Regions from separate parts of the Homo sapiens genome. Here regions 2, 3 and 4 are each linked to region 1. Evidence: promoter capture Hi-C in 16 types of primary human blood cells and fetal thymus (Javierre and others, 2016). All regions are on one chromosome and are shown on one strand. Each heading gives the region's core, a stretch centred on a gene start or on the middle of the fragment in contact. The rest is flanking DNA. Distances are from core to core; before and after follow the strand shown.

Region 1 (4,085 bases), core at 1,112-3,611:
CTCAAAAAACAAAACAAAAAACATATATATATATACACATATATATGTTAATTGTTTATGTTATTGGTAAGGCTTCTGGTCAACAGGTTATTGGTAGTTAAGTAAGTTAAGTTTTGGGGGAGTCAAAACTTACAGGTAGATTTTTCAACTGCCCAGGGGTCAGCTCCCCTAACCCTTGTGTTTTTCAATGGTCACCTGTATATTTATACCTGCCTAGGAGAAAAATCACGGCTTCTTTGTTTCATCTAGTTTATTCAACCATAAGACACTTAATTTCATTTATGTCAGGATCAGGATCAAAGTATGTAATGAAATATTTGAAGCCGAACACAAATTAGAAAACAATTCAAGATTTTACACATGCCCATATTACAACGTTGTCTTAGATTCCCGGCCAATGGAGCTGCTTTTGTTTGCCATAACAGTACACATTTAAAATAAATGAAGTTCAAGATATTTCTCTGGCTTAATATTTATATTGCCTTTTTGTGGGTTCTTAGTATATTAGAACGAATAGCACATTAAACAAAACACTGTCATGAGCCCTTAGGTACCTTGAGGAATAATGGAGGGAAAAGAGTCAAACACTTTACTCCCTTCTCTCCTTGTCACCGACCCCTAAATATACACAACTTGGACACTAAGGACTAAAACTCCATCCTCTTTCCCTGCCCCTCACTGATACGGAAGAGGGGAATGGAAGTGCTGGAGGGGAGAAGGGTGTGGTCCCTGACTAGGGCTCTACCCCCAGGCCTGTGGCCACGGACCTAGGTGAGGACAGGCATTCCTGCCTTTGTGCCCAAATATTGCATTTCCCAAGACCACCCTGGCCCACCACGCCCCCATCCTGTGCCTATAAAAACCCTGATACCCTAGCAGGCAGAGACACAAGCTGCTGGACGTTGAGAGGAGAGCATTGGCGGACACACAAACAGCTGGCTGTCGAGAGGCTGTCGAGGGGAGCGGGTCGGCAAAAGAGCACACTGAAGAGACCGGCAGGCCAGCAGGCCATTAACCGGTGGAATAACGCAGTTTGGCCTGGGTAGTCGGAGGAGCGCCCAGGCCGCTGAGAGGCTGACTCCAGGCGAAAACCATCTCCCTTCTGGCTCCCCCTTCTGCTGAGAGCTACTTACAAATCGTTCTCCAAGGTTTCTCCAATCCTTGCACTCTTTCTCCAAGCCTATGTGTGATGCGATTCTTCTGGTACACCAAGGCAAGAACCTCTGGGATACAGAAAGCCCTCTCTTGCTTGCGATAAGTCAGGGGTCTAATTGAGCTAACACAAGCCTCCTACAGATGGCTGAACTAAAAAAGCACCCTATAACACACGCCCACTGGGGCTTCAGGAGCTGTAAACATTCACCCCTAGACACTGCCGTGGGGTTGGAGCCCTACAACCTGCCCGTGTGCATGCTCCCCTAGAGGTTTGAGCGGCTGGGCACGAAGAAGCGAGCCACACCCCATCACATGCCCTGGGAGAGGGAGAAGTGAACTTTTCCCGTTTCATCACAATTTACTTTCGGCACTAACATGATTGTTCAGCTGTCTTCATCAGCAGGCCTTTATTCCAGGAGATTCCTGCCCAAGCAAACTGTTTAATTGTTCATTATGGGAACTTCCACAGAGACCCATCAAATTTTCAATCTCTTCCAAAGAAAGTGTCAATAGATTGCAATTTAAGATTCTTTGCTTCAAAAATCCTTGCTATATCCACCAATCCTGGACTGTAGTATCATGATCATTATGCAATACTAATAAAATCCCTTGCATTGAAAGACCCGCCTTAAACATCCAGTTCTCAATCAGTTCCAACCTTGCCTTGACACTTTGCTCTGTGAAGGTGCCAACGCTCCGTCGAAGTGTTGTTCTCCATTACTGCAATCAACAATAAATTCTGTTTTTTGTCTTATCAACAGGTTGAGTTGATGATATTTGGGGAGCCGGCATTTGACACAAGTTTGAGATCTGGTGTTCCTTAACGTTCAGCGTCCATCGGAGCTCAGCCTAAGTCACTTTTACGCTTCCCATTTTAGCCTACCCTCTGCTTCTGCGAAAAATTTTGGTTTCTAACTTATTTTAATAATACAAGCTGCACTTTTCATTTTTATATGTCATCACTTTAAAAATTTTACAATTATTTTCTCATGAGCTTTTAAAAATGAATAAAACAAAAACGAATCTCACAGTAGTAGCACCAGAGAAGTGGCTCAAACCCAACCGGCTTGAGTCAAAACAAAGCCCAGCTGGTGGGAAGCGCTGCCCTTGGAGCATTCTGGGAACTGTAGTCCAGGAGTGAGAGAACTCTGAGACGCTTCCGCTTAGGAATTCTGGGAAGTGGAGTCCACGAACCGTGGGCACTCGGAGGCACTTCCGCTCCAGGAAGGCGAGGTCGGATCTGAGATATCTCCCAGGGAGGTGAGTCAGCTCCGGGTCTCCAAGACTTCTCCGAGCCCTCTTTGCCTAGGCGTGGGGCCAGCAATGAACCCGTCCTTGGCTTGGGGAAGAGAAGCCGCGGCCAGCGCTGGAGGGCGGGGTTGGGAGGCTGCGGGAGTTTGCGTCCCCTCGGCAGAACCTCTTGCGTGGGAGGCGGGCTCGCGTCGTCCTTCGAGGTTGAGGGTCTGCTGCCCTAGCCGTCCTCACGCACCTACCAGCCAGTCCTGCCTGCTCCTCGCAGTAAAATATTGGGCAAGTTACTTAATCTCTCCTTGTCTCAGTTTCCTCGTGCCTGTAAAGGGTTAGTGCGTTCCCAGTGATGTTCTTGTGAGAATTAAATGAGGTTTTATAGAAATAAGCTTAAAACCAGTGCATAGGAAAATGTTGGATGCCACCGTTAATTCTGTTATAATACTGAAAAAGACGCCTGTTGTTTGGAAACTCCTCTGAGTCTAGGAGATCCAGCTACGGAGCCGCTGTCCCTTCTCTAATCCTTGCCTGATGTGGGGCCGTTCCTGGATTCTTGGACTTTTCTAGCCTCTTGTTTAGGAGACAGGAATTAGTTCCAGCGGAGCCTGGGGAATGTCCTGTGTGTTTTATCTCAGATAAGCGATCGTCATTACGGATTTGCAGAGTGCCAGAGGTGTCCTGAGGCCCTAATAAATGTTCAGTATAATGTGGTTATAACCAATAATCCCGTGTGGTTAACTTAAGTGTAACACCATTTCTTAGAGAGTTTTAGGTTTTTATTAGTCATTGCTTTCATGCATGTGGAAAAAGAGACTTTCTTGAGGCTCCTCCAGCTTAGTAACATTTGCAAGTAATTACATCTGTTGGAGGAAAAAAAAACCTGTGGCAGTTTAACTATCATTACCAACGGAACTAATTATGTTAGACAACCAATCACAGTTACAGACTTTTCTGAGGGTAATGGTAACTCACAGGACAGAGCAATTATTTTTGAGTTCTGGGTTTCTTAAAAGATTCATTTTCTAGAAAGCATACTCAAAAGGGCAGTTTTATGAAGCATAATAGCACTTGCTTGTCAGAAGCTGCAGGAAATAGAGAATACAGGCATTATTATTGTCCCCATTCACAGGTAACTGAATTAAGGCACAGAGAGATTAATAATTCGCTTAAGGTTTATACTGCTGATCAGTTGAAAATAGGTAGAAATGCCAAAATTTGAAGCCAGGCATTTTGGCTCTGTTACATTCCCCTGCCTGTCTGTGTCTCATTTCCTTGGAAACTAAAGTTCAGAAGGAGTACACAGAGAGCTGTATTTGATTTAGGTCTGTTAATATGAAATGTTCATGAACAAAAGCAGCTGGTTGAGGGGGCCGAGGGGTAGCTGGGAGCTAGCTCCCGTTCTCCTCACTAAGCCGTGTGCAACTGTGTCTGCCTAGAGACAGGGGGACCTTTCTCTGAAGTGTCACATAAAAGTGCCATGGTGACTAATGCCATCCCTAACCTATCTCATGATGCCTTTCCCTCCCTCAGGTTCACTTCCCCGGAACTCTGCCTTTTCCCAGAAGGAGGAGGGGAAAAATGACCAAGTTCCAGGTAAGTTTGGTTTGCCTTTGTGTTTCTTAAAATGACATCTCATTTCACAAAGATTGGACACATTTTTCCTGTTTGGGAACAGTAAAAGG
Region 2 (4,085 bases), core at 681-3,180, 230 kb after region 1:
AGCCACCATGCCCGGCCAATATCAGGAAACATTTACCAAAAAAAAAATGAGATAACGATGAGATAAATTAGGATGAGCATGATATAACATGTAAGTTCACTAGCTATTTCCCTCTTGGCAGTGTTTCCAAATTTCCATAGTTAAACACATAAGGGAAAACACATTTTTTTAATCATAAAATTTTGTTTAAATGTTTATAAATAAATATGCAAATATGCCAAAGAAAGACCAAAAAGAAATGCACCGGGTGCGGTGGCTCACGCCTGTAATCCCAGCACTTTGGGAGGCCGAGGCTGGTGGATCATGAGGTCAGGAGATCAAGACCATCCTGGCTAACACGGTGAAACCTCATCTCTACTAAAACTACAAAAAAATTAGCCGGGCGTGGTGGCGGGCGCCTGTGGTCCCAGCTACTCACACAGGAGGCTGAGGCAGGAGAATGGCGTGAACCTGGGAGGCGGAGTTAGCAGTGAGCCGAGATCGTGCCACTGCACTCCAGCCTGGGCAACACAGTGAGACTCTGTCTCAAAAAAAAAAAAAAAATGCACTCGAAGTTTAACAGTTACTATCTTTACATGCTGGATTCATGGGTAATTATAAACTTGTACTACTCGTATTTCTCCAATTTCTGAACGCTCCACAATCATACCGCTGCATAACAAGTGAAATATTTGTAATAAATGAAATAGTTCTAATGAATGAAATAGTTGATAAACTCCCAGAACAGTCCAAGCCCATAAGCCTTGCTCTCAAGGCTCCCTTCAATCAAGTCCTAGCTTGCTTTCCCCACTAGATTCCAGCTAGTTCCTCTGCCTCAATGAGAATGTATCCAAAAGATTATCAACTAAGGCTCTGACCTGTAACGCCCAGGTTTCAACCGCAGCTCCACCTCTTACTGCTTAGGTGACTATTCTCAGATAACTCCTGCTCCTTTGTATCTCACTCATCTTTAAAACTGAAAAAAGTAGTACCTCTCCACAGAGCCACGGTGTGGCGAAAATGTGACTACTTGTATAAAGCTCTTGGGATAAAGTTACCAATTGAGGCTTAATTATTATCAACACCCATGCCTGAGGACACATCCTACACTCTTGGTCGGGGTGAGCATCTCTGTAAAAGAAAAAAAGCCAAGGACCACTCTCGTGGAACTTTGCCCTCAGTAGCCAAGAAGTCCCTCCCTGCAGCTCTTTTTGAGAATCAGGCTGGGGAAGGAGAAAGCTGTGAAACACCCTGACCGCATTGCCGTCCGGCATAAAAGTTAAATGTTCCTCTCCCTTCGTGGAAATGGAAACAACCCTCGCCTTCCTAAAAAGAGGTCAGAAGCGTCCGGGATCACCCAGCGTCCTGCAGGAATCAGAGACAAGGGCGGGGATCCCTGCAGATGGAGCTCTGACCCCACCCGGGGACCTGACAGGCTTCGTGGGAAATAAACACTAAGAAGAGACCACCAGTCACTAAGGGAGGGGCTGCTTTAAGGCTTTCATTTGTGTTACCTCTTCCAGTTCCCAAAACGATTTCATTAGGATGGTCCTAAAGTCCCCATTTTAAAGAACAGCAGTGGGAGGTACAGGGAGATTAATAACATCCCAACCCTAAATTGTGAGAAAGTAGCCTCACAGGTGGGATGGAGGGAGGCGGACTGAGCGAGCTGAGAGCCCCAAAAACCCTCAAACCAGGCGAGACGCGTCCCGACCAAGTCCCAACCCCCAGCCTCATGCCCGGGGACGCGAGGACAGCCCCAAGACCAAGAAGGCTCCGCTGACAAGAACGAAAAGAGAGGCCGTTGTCCCTCCAAACCTCCGTTTTCCAACGAGACTCCTTCTCCCCTTAGTCAACTTCCAGGTGGTTGCGAGCCAGCATCGTAAGGGGACACGTTTAGAAGGACCGACAAGACACAGGACTGACACCAAACTACCACCGAATGCACTGCAGCAACCTCGCCCCCCGGGAGCGGAAGTGCCCCTACCCCGCGCAGCGTGTGAACTACATTTCCCAGAATTCCCCGGATACGCCGTCCTGAGCCTACTTGCTCGTCATTCAACAGATCTCCTGCGCTACACTTCCTTGAATCTCAAAGGAGACGTTCTATAGTATCACCTTCCGGCGGGAAGCGTGGGACTCCGCGGTGCTCTTTGACTACACTTCCTGCAATGCCCACGAGGAATGAATCCCATAGACCCAAGCGCCTGGTTTGGAATATGGACTGTGGCCCTGAGAGTGGTCCTTCCCTCTCCCTGCGTCCTCGAGAGAAAATATTGAATAGACAGGAATTCCTGAAGTCTACACGCCTCCCATGATGACAGGAGTGTTACTGAAAGAGAACAAAGCAAGGAGATACAATCTTCAAGGAGTTAGCGGGGAGTGACTGTGGAGCGGTCAGGAGATGGCTGAAAGGCTAATATACTAGACGCTAATAGTATGAGGCTAAATCTAAGAGCTTAAATAATGGGCCAGGAAAAATGGTTTGGGAGAGGCATTGAGTGGGGCACCAGCCCCTGGTACAACCAGACACTGTTGTACCACTGGTTTGGCAAGAAAAACAACCACAGTTTAAGTGTTTAAGAGGGCTGTAAGAGTTAAAGAGAAAAAAAAAAAAAACACGAAAAGCGGCTCAACAGTCAAAGACAGGTTCGTTTTGGAGAATAAACCGAGAGGGCCTTCTGGCCGATTGCAGTCAGGAGCGCTCTCTCTTACGGACTAAGAGTATGTATTGGCTTTAGGGAGAGAGAGCTTACCACAGGCTTAGAATGTTTCTGTATTGGGGAGAAGTCTGTTGTGGGGTTGGAATATCTCTGGTTGGAGGGGAAGTTATCTTGGGACTGACATCTCTCCAATGGAAGGGAGGTTATCTCGGTGCTGGCATGTCTCTGGTCAGGGAGGGGTTTATCTTATGGTTGGAATGTTTCTGATTGGAGATGTCATTTGTGGTTTATGGTCATGCTGACCTTAGCCATTAGGCTGATGCCCTTTGGATTTAGGCAGTTTTTGATCAACGCGAACTTTAAAATGGCAGTGTTTGTCCAAGATGGCGATGCTCCTGCCCTGTCAAGGGCCAATATGGAGGGCCAATTGCCCTCCTGGAAAAGCTATCTTCCCACTTTTAAAGTTTTCATATTAATATTCTTTAGACGTGGAAATGCCACATTTAAGAGAAATTAAACTGCTTAGTATTGTGAAAGGAAAATATCTTGGGCCCCCAAAATCACTAAGGAAATCTCAAGCTGGAAATCGCTTAGGGCAAACCTGCCTCCCATTCTATTCAAAGTCACTCCTCTATCTGTCCTTGCTATCACGAGAACAGCATGGGAAAGACCCACTCCCATGATTCAATTACCTCCTACTAGGTCCCTTTCATGATATGTGGGAATTATGGGAGCTATAATTCAAGATGAGATTTGGGTGGAGACACAGCCAAACCGTATCAGTATGTGTAGATTTCTTATTTTCCATTATTACTTAAAAGAAAGCACGTTTCTAACTCTTCTATGGTCATGTAACAACATATCCTAGAAATCACTTCATGTACAGTACATTCTTTTTAGTGCTGCGTAAACTAGAAAATCCAGAAATAAATTTCTACACCTACAGTGAGCTCATTTTCAACAAAGGTGCTAAGTATATATATTGGGAAAAGGACAGTCTCTTCAATAAATGGTGCTAGAAAAACATGATATCCACATATAGAAGAATGAAACTTCAACCCTGTTGTTCACCATATACAAAAATAAAATCGAAATGGATTAAAGACTTAAATCTAAAACCTCGAACTATGAAACTACTACAAGAAAACATTGGGGAAATGTTCCAGGACATTGGTCTGGGCAAAGATTTCTTGAGTAATACCCCAAAAGCATAGACAACCAAAGCAAAAATGGACAAATGGGATCACGTCAAGTTAAGAAGCTTCTGCACAGCAAAGGAAGCAATCAACAAAGTGAAGAGACAACCCACACAATAGGAGAAAATATTTGCAAACTATCCATCTGACAAGGGATTAATAACCAGAATATAAGAAGCTCAAACCAAATAGGAAAAAATTTAATAAATCAATTTTAAAATGAGCAAAATATCTGAATAGACATTTC
Region 3 (4,085 bases), core at 434-2,933, 170 kb after region 1:
TGTATAAAATCCCTTCCCACATTCTTCACATTTGAATGTTGTCTCTCCACTGTGGACTCGCACATGTCTTGAAAGACCTGAGGCCCATCTGAAGCTCTTTCCACATTCTTTACAATTATATGGCTTCTCCCCTGTGTGGTCTATCTGATGCTTATAAAGATCTTGCCTATAAATGAAGCGTTTTCCACATTCCTCACATTTGTACCGTTTCTCTCCTGTGTGGACCATGCGATGACTATTAAGTGCTGATTTCAGACCAAAGCTCTTACCACATGTATCACATCTGAATGGTTTCTCTCGCATGTGAACCATGGAATGCCTATTAAGATTTGCTCTACTACGGAAGCTCTTACAACATATATCACATTTGAATGGCTTCTCCCCAGTATGGATTCTTTGATGTTCCTGAAGCTGGGAATCATGAATGAAGGCCTTCCCACATTTCTCACAAATATGAGGTTTCACTCCTGTGTGTAATTTACGATGAACATAAAGTCCTGATCTACGACTAAAGCCTTTCCCACACTGCTCACATTTGAATGGTTTCTCTCCAGTGTGGATTCTCTGATGAATTTGCAGATGTGAGCTCTGATTGAATTCCTTACCACACACATCACAATTATAGAGTTTCTCCCCCATGTGAACTCTCTGATGAATACGAAGAGCTGAGCTATAACAGAAACTCTTTCCACATTCATCACATGTATGAGACTTCTCTCTTGACTGTAGTTGTTGATGAAGATCAAGGACGGAGACATCACTAAAGGACTTTTTACACGTCCTACCCTCAGAAGGTTTCTGTCTTACGTGAATTATAGATAGTCCTGCATCAACCTGGCAGGGCATATCATCTTGTTTGGAGAACTGAAAGCTGTTTACCATGGAGTCTTGAAACCTGGTTAAGTCACTTGAAATTTGTTCCCAGGTTTGATGACTGAACAAGCCTTCATGTGTTCCTGATTCTGAAACAGTCTCCATCTCCATTTGGATCTTGCCTCCTATAATGACACAGAATTAAGAGATGTGGGCAAGTAAAGCTTTTATTCAGTGTTATCAAGATTTCATACTTAGGACATAGCCTGAAATTTTAATAAATATAGGGAATGTTCAGATTGTATTTTCCTTTTTTTTTTTTTTTTTTTTTTTTGAGATGGAGTCTCGCTCTGTCCCCCAGGCTGGAGTGCAGTGGCGTGATCTCCGCTCACTGCAAGCTCCACCTCCTGGGTTGTTCACACCATTCTCCCGCCTCAGCCTCCTCAGTAGCTGGGACTATAGGCGCCCGCCACCACGCCCAGCTAATTTTTTGTATTCTTAGTACAGATGGGTTTTCACTGTGTTAGCCAGGATGGTCTCGATCTCCTGACCTCGTGATCCGCCCTCCTCAGCCTCCCAAAGTGCTGGGATTACAGGTGTAAGCCACTGCGCCCAGCCCTGTATTTTCCTTTTTTAAAGAGAGTGTCTCCCTCTGTCACCCAGGCTGGAGTGCAGGGACACAATCATGGCTCGCTGCAGCCTTGACCTCCTGGGCTCAAGTGATCCTCCCACCTCTGCCTCCTGAGTAGCTAGGACTACAGGCACATACCACCATAACTAGCTAATTTTTACACTTTTTGTAGAGACAAGGTCTTGCTATGTTGCCAAGGCTGGTCTTGAACTCCTGGCCACAAGTGATACTCCCATTTTGGCCTCCCAAAGTGCTGGGATTACAGGCTTGAGCCACTGTGCCCAGCCAATGTGTTTTCCAGGTACACTATGGACTCTGGTTTGCATGAGACCAATTCAGAACCACACCACGTGTCATATGTGAAATACTTGGTAGAAATAAAACCTTGCATGGTAAATTATGTAACTAATAAATTATGTAAACAGTGAAATATGAATCAAATGTGAACTTTAAGGAGAAGCCATAACATCGTCAAAACTTTGTATATTTTAGTTTGTATTGTATATCCTTATGAAGTAAAGAAATTATCCTAAGTCACAAAGAGGCCTGGGTGATGTCCTCAGCATCTGAGAGGCAATCTCTCAGTCCTTAAAATGTCATGCCCTAGGAGAGTGTCTTTGTTTGCCTGGAGGTAGTAGGTCTAGTAAGTCACTCTGGACGGTGTAATTCTACGATTTAGGATTATGGGTGGCCACACCTATGAGGAGAATGTGGTGCTCACTATGTGAGAAAGACCAACAATGTGATTTATGGTGAGGCTTTAGGTCATGTGGAATCAGTCAACCAGGAGACTGAGACTACTCATACGGGAAAGAAATCAACCAATAATGGCTATGTAATTAACAGACAACGATTACTCTGAATACCAGGGCTCAGGAAAGCTTCCCTGATAGGCTCTCCTCCCGTCTAATGTCACACCTTAATCTTGGGGATGTAATGCATCCTGATTTCATGGGGAGAGTACAATAAAAAGTTCTCATTTGATACTTCCCTGGACTCTGTCTTACTTGATTTTTCTCCTAATTGTAATATGCATCTTTCCCCTATAAAAACCCATAATTTTAAGAATATGGAACATGAAAATAATTTGGGGAAACCACTGAATTTGTCATTGGTATGCAGTGACAGCAGTCTTCTGTGAGCTGTCACTTTAAACTTTGCAATTGGTTAAGCTCTTCACAATACTAAATATCAAATACCTAGGAGTATTTATGTCTACATTTTCAGAGTATTCCTGTACAAGAATTTTTGCAGAACATGTATAATCTCATTTGTCTGTACTGATATGAACAATAACTTGGTTACCTGAAATAGAAAAGGATCAGAAACCTTCAGTTTTGATGGGAATCTGAAAGGCTGGACCTGACAGAAATACACAAAGGGGGATGATCCTGATGAGACAATGAAAGTTGGTAAGATCACCTGGGATGAAAAGAACGCCTAAGGGGTCATGCCCTGATTGGTTCCATGTGAAGTTATTGGACTGTCTCATTGAAAACAGATAGCAGAAAAAATATGATGTAAAGAAACAGACCTTTATACCCATTTTCAAAATAAACACTACAGACTCTTAGTGAGCTGTAAAATAAATCTGAAACCTTCTAAAAAGCATTTAGGAAAAAGAACCAGAATAGAAATTATCATAGCATCGTGACAAACAGGAAAGGTGCCATTATATGAAATGCCTACTAAAGGTACTCATACACATCTACATGCACAAAATATTTTCATCCTGGTGATGATGAAAGATGTATTTCTTACTATGGCTCATGGTCATAAAACATTGAAAATCTTGGTCAGGATATTACCACATTCTGAATTAAGTAAATCAATCAAATGGAAAGTTAATTTTCAATGGCTGAATCTTAGGAAACATTAGTAAGTAAGTGTGTACCTACTGGTGCACATTAGTACATGGATATAATTAAAACATCATCCCTTATAAATAAGAGATTTTTGGGAAGAAGGAGGAGTCTCTTTCAGGATGTTAACATTTTGAGAGGGCAGTTTCCTGATTCCTTCCAGGATATAAAGTTCACCAGTTCAAAATACAGCACCATGTCTCTATACAAAGAAAAGGAAGACTGTACGAAATCTGTATTCTTTAACATGTTTAACAAATTTGTAAAAAATAAAGATGCAGAAATATATACCACGCTATCAAACAAAGATGACTAGAAATACAGGCAACATTCAGATGTGTGACTTGTGTCACCCTTATCCTCATTCTTCTTTCTCTAGGAGAAGGAAAGAGAAACCGGGGGTTGGTGATGTACATGTACATTGGTGATGTACATTGGAAGAGGCAAACAGGCTGCAGATGGGTAAATCTCTCGAAGGAAAGGTAGCTGGAAAGCTGGTTATTTTCTGAGACATCAGAGAATTGAAAGTTTTTTCCCCTTGTATAGGAGAGCTGTTTCAGAAGGAGACATCAGAATCTTCCTTTGAAAAGGTTTTTTTTGGCTAGGAGTGGTGGCTCATTCCCTGCAATCCCAGCACTTTGGGAGGCCGAGGTGGGCAGATCACCTGAAGTCAGGTATTTGAGACCAGCTTGGCCAACATGGTGAAACTCTGTCTCTACTAAAAAATACAAAAAAATTAGCTGGGCATGGTGGCATATACCAGCTACTTGGGAGGCTGA
Region 4 (4,085 bases), core at 816-3,315, 140 kb before region 1:
TGTGACTACAGGCACCCCCCACCATGCCCGGCTAATTTTTTTTGTTTTCTTTTTTGTATTTTTAGTAGAGATGGGGTTTCACCGTGTTAGCCAGGATGGTCTCGATCTCCTGACCTCGTGATCTGCCTGCCTCGGCCTCCCAAAGTGCTCTGATTACAGGCATGAGCCACCGTGCCCGGCCAAGACACTTGATTGAATTGCTTAAGTGCTTCCCATGTGCCAGAGCCATGAAAGGTAAATAAAGAAAATAAAGAAAAAGAAGAGTCAATTATTTTGATGACTTAGAGATCTGACCATGGAGGCCATGTGAAAGGTGGTAACCAGCAATTTAAACCATGTGTTGCTGGATCCCAGAGTAATATAATTTATTGATTTCTCGGGGAAATGAGAATGTTCTGAGAGTGGTATTTAACATCCACTACACTCGCATGAAATTCTCCCAATCACAGACTGATCTGTTCATTGAATTATGATATAGAGTTCAAAAACACTCGATAGAGGAAATTATATTCAAGTTGTGTCTTAAATATGGAGTAAGATTTTAATAGTACAGGAAAGGATGGACTTACAGAGGGAAGAACAATAGCAGCAAATTCAGACATTTGTAAAACTGGAGGACACAGGATGGGAAGTAGGACTGTGTCTACCCAAGCAAAGAGGGGTGGGTTTGGAACCAAATATCTGAAGGGCTTGGATGCTTTGGAGTCAATTGGCAATTTTTTAGAATTTATCAAAACAATTCGATAATCTGTTTATAAGAGAGAGTTCTAGAACTTCTAGGATGAAATTTTTGAAACACAACAAGGAGGGAGAGATAAGGAAATGAGTTATCACTGTAACTGAAACCTTTCATCATGGCACAGAAAAAGCAATCTCTATCTTCAGAACACACTTGTATCCCAGAAAATATTTCATTATATATATAGTAATGTAGTAAGTGATTAGGATGCCGTTTAAATCAGAAAGGAAAGAATTAATATTTATGTAAATTTTGTTAAGAAAAGTAGACAATCCTTTGGTGAAACAGGAAACTCCATCTTCCTTTCATATCATACACTTAAATGAATCACGCGGTGATTCAAAAGAAAAATGAAAGAGCCTGAAATGAATATAGATATGCACTTATTGGGAATCAGGCTAAGGAATGTCTTTTTGGTCATACTGGAGAAAAAAAAGAAGCCACAAATGAAAAGACTGATATACCTTGTCAGATGAAGTTTTTTGTTTTTTTTTTTTTCTAAACTACTTTATAAATGTTGAAACTGGGGGAGCAATTCATCACTTAGAAGCGATATCATTCATACACAGAGAGTGTATGACAATAAAAGATGACAATGAAATGCAATCGGTAATAAGCATATTTACTCTGTCAAATTGGGAAAATAAGACAGGATATTTAGTCCATCAAATTGGGAAAATATTAAAGAAAGTGATTGTGTGTAGTTTTGATATCATAAAATTAGAAGTGTAAGTTCAATGCAGGACAAAGGGGTAACTTCCCTAAAAACTAAAGAATGCTAGGCAAGTATTGCAAATAATTTGTGTTTTTTTATTATCTCTATGTATCTCTACGTCTTTTGTGACATACAGAACTATCCACGATATATGACCTGTGGCAAGAAATGATTACAAAATATTATGATGCCATTTGGGAAATGGGATTCTTAAGAATTCATATTTACTCACATAAACCAGGGATTAAGTAAGAATTTTTTTTAAACCATTCTTTACATGTAATATGAACTACTTTTGAAATAAATATTTAGTTGGCTTTTACACCAGAAAATCAATAATGCTTTATATCCCTGGTGATGGGATGATGGGCTTGTTTGAGAATATAGTCAGGTTTGCTACAACGCGAATATGTTAGTACTGAGTAAAGACATTCTTTTCAACTCAGAAACACCTTGCATGCCGCCTCCCGCCGCCTCGCAGTGGGCGTGACTCGAGGTGGACGCGCATTTACGACACCATCGCCCCTAGGATCGGACTGCGCTGCGGAGGGTTCTGGGAAAGGTAGTCCCACACCTCGAGTCGACTACTTCCGTTTCCGGTGGGCGCGTCACCTTGATTGCTTCTTAGGCAGTGGTGAGGCGTCTTAGAGACGTGCATCTCCATGCGGTTGTACTGTCAGGCCATGGGAATTAGGATCGGCTCTATAGGACCAGTGTGAAGGGACAACGTGCGGCGGAGGGTCGAAGCCCACGGATTTCCATGAGCTCGGCCTGGTGAGGCAGGGGTGTAAGGAGGCGCACGTATCGAACATTCTGAGCGCCTGTGCGGGGTGGGCCCGGGTCGGCAGCCCTCGCAGTCCAGGCTTGGAAAAGCAGTTTGAGGCCAGCTCTGGCTTTGAGATGAGATCTGCAGTGCGGGAGACTCCACTGTGTCAGTTGCGGATCGATGACATGAATTTTCTCAGGGTAGCCGCCCACCCACTTGTGGAGTAATTTCAGAGTTTTCTGCGAAGTCATTTCTGTAAACAGGAAGTTGATTCCCTGTGTTCTAATTTTATCCTTTGAAATGTATTAAGCGCTGTGCAAGTCCTAGGAGTTGGTTTGCTGTATCGTTGCTGGCTCTGCTTTTTGTAGCCGCCTAAGCACACACAGGCAGAATTTCACTTGTAAGTGTCCCACAGCATGTGACAGTCAGCTCTGGATTAAAATCTTGAGATTTTGTCTTGATTCTCCTTGTCTCCTGAAAGGGGCAGTGAAAGTAGGCTTGTAGACGGTTTCTTTGGGCATCAGGAATGGCGTGTCCCTTGTACTCTGAGTCCTGTAGGAAGAGAGGTTCTTTTCCTCGGCTCCTGAAGCAAGTAGCGAGGGTAGATTACAGGAAGGGGTAGATTACATCCAGCTGGCACTGAGAGATTTCCCCCTGTGGCGTGGTGGGAATTGGGATTAAATCATGTTATCCTGCTGTTCATTTTTCTTTCACAGGCTTCCTTCTTGGAATTGTTCGTTTCTCGGAGATAATTGTATAAAAGAAGGAGAAATAACCCCACATCTCTTGACACTAGAGCTCCAGGTGAGTGAACTTTGGTTCTCTTTTGTGGCAATGCCAGGTCTCTTGGTGACCTCATTCTTCATCCCATTGATATCACAAATGTTCATTCAGACCCCTTAGCCACACCTGCCTTCCCCTAGAAATGGGGGAGGTTTGAGGAATTTCCCAGTGTCTTTATTTAGTGTATTCTCTTCTTGGCTCCTAGTAGTGTGTCACTGGGTCAGTAAAGGCTTACACTGTTTCAGCGCCATGCTGAAGAAACGCAGGGTAGAAATAATTAGAGTAACTGTGATGGTGTATATTAACTGAGTGCTTACTATATGCCAGGTATTATTTATCCATGGTGTCTAGGACAGTGCCAGGCTTGCCAATAAATATTTGAATAAATGAATGTATTTCTATTGAATTTTCTGAGCAAGTTTGTATGTTAGCTATTATCCCCATGTCACAGATGAGTTGCTAAGGTTTAAAAAGTTAAAAAAACTTAACAGGTAAGACCTGGCCAGGAGACCTTCTAAACAGAAACCAGGTCTTTGCGCTTATGCTTCCTTCTGGACTTGTCTCATCCCAGCTTTTTTCACAGCTGATTTATTTGTCAGGCAGCTCTTAGAGACTGTCCCTGACCACCTGATTTAATGTTGCTCTTTCCACAGCTGCCACATATGTTCACCTGATAGCACCTACATTCTTGTTGGAAAACAGGAATCTATCATGTTTGCTTTATTTTCTTCATAGCCCTTTTTGCAACCAAAGGTCACCTAATTTGTAGAGAGATTAACCCACCCGAAAGTAAGCACCATGAGAACAATTACCTTTTCCATCTTAATTTACTGCTGTATGTCTAGTGTTTATTCTCCTAAGATGTTGTTAGACACTGAATGTACATTTACTAAATGCATGAGTTCCTGTATTCCTAGGTTAATGCTGGGTTGGGTCAATGGTAATAGTATATTGATGATTTTCTGTGTACCACGTACTGGGCTTTGAAGTTTATTCACATAGGCATGTGTGTGTGAAAGAGAGAAAAACTTAAATTATTTTAGTTTTGCAAGTAAGGATTATCTTTATTTGACAGAAGTACA

Evidence for each region. The method cuts DNA at HindIII sites, captures the fragments that hold promoters and counts their contacts. A CHiCAGO score of 5 or more calls a contact.
Region 2: the fragment with the promoter of ZNF284 here is called in contact with the fragment with the promoter of ZNF235 in region 1 in 7 of 17 cell types (non-activated CD4 T cells, naive CD8 T cells, naive CD4 T cells and 4 more); the score reaches 7.2 in non-activated CD4 T cells.
Region 3: a fragment that was not itself captured here is called in contact with the fragment with the promoter of ZNF235 in region 1 in 3 of 17 cell types (total CD4 T cells, naive CD8 T cells and total B cells); the score reaches 7.2 in total CD4 T cells.
Region 4: a contact is called between the fragment with the promoter of ZNF229 here and the fragment with the promoter of ZNF235 in region 1, in 3 of 17 cell types (neutrophils, megakaryocytes and M1 macrophages). The highest score is 6.1, in neutrophils.

The regions. Positions count from the first base shown.
Region 1 is chr19:44,303,301-44,307,385 of GRCh38, reverse strand. It overlaps ZNF235 (zinc finger protein 235), which reads left to right and starts at 2,361. Exons shown (of 5, transcript NM_004234.4): 1 at 2,361-2,415; 2 at 3,934-3,996. The coding sequence starts at 3,982. RefSeq lists enhancers at 447-946, 947-1,448, 2,025-2,578. The HindIII fragment of the contact is 5,796 bases long and covers 1-2,794 here.
Region 2 is chr19:44,070,004-44,074,088 of GRCh38, reverse strand. It overlaps ZNF284 (zinc finger protein 284), which reads right to left and starts at 1,930. Exons shown (of 5, transcript NM_001037813.4): 1 at 1,798-1,930. The HindIII fragment of the contact is 12,821 bases long and covers 1-3,905 here.
Region 3 is chr19:44,127,763-44,131,847 of GRCh38, reverse strand. It overlaps ZNF225 (zinc finger protein 225), which reads right to left. Exons shown (of 5, transcript NM_013362.4): 5 at 1-998. Among named protein-coding and RNA genes, the nearest start is that of ZNF234, 12 kb to the left of the region's middle. The HindIII fragment of the contact is 1,288 bases long and covers 1,040-2,327 here.
Region 4 is chr19:44,446,452-44,450,536 of GRCh38, reverse strand. ZNF229 (zinc finger protein 229) reads left to right here and starts at 2,065. Exons shown (of 6, transcript NM_014518.4): 1 at 2,065-2,228; 2 at 2,937-3,024. The HindIII fragment of the contact is 11,359 bases long and covers 1-4,085 here.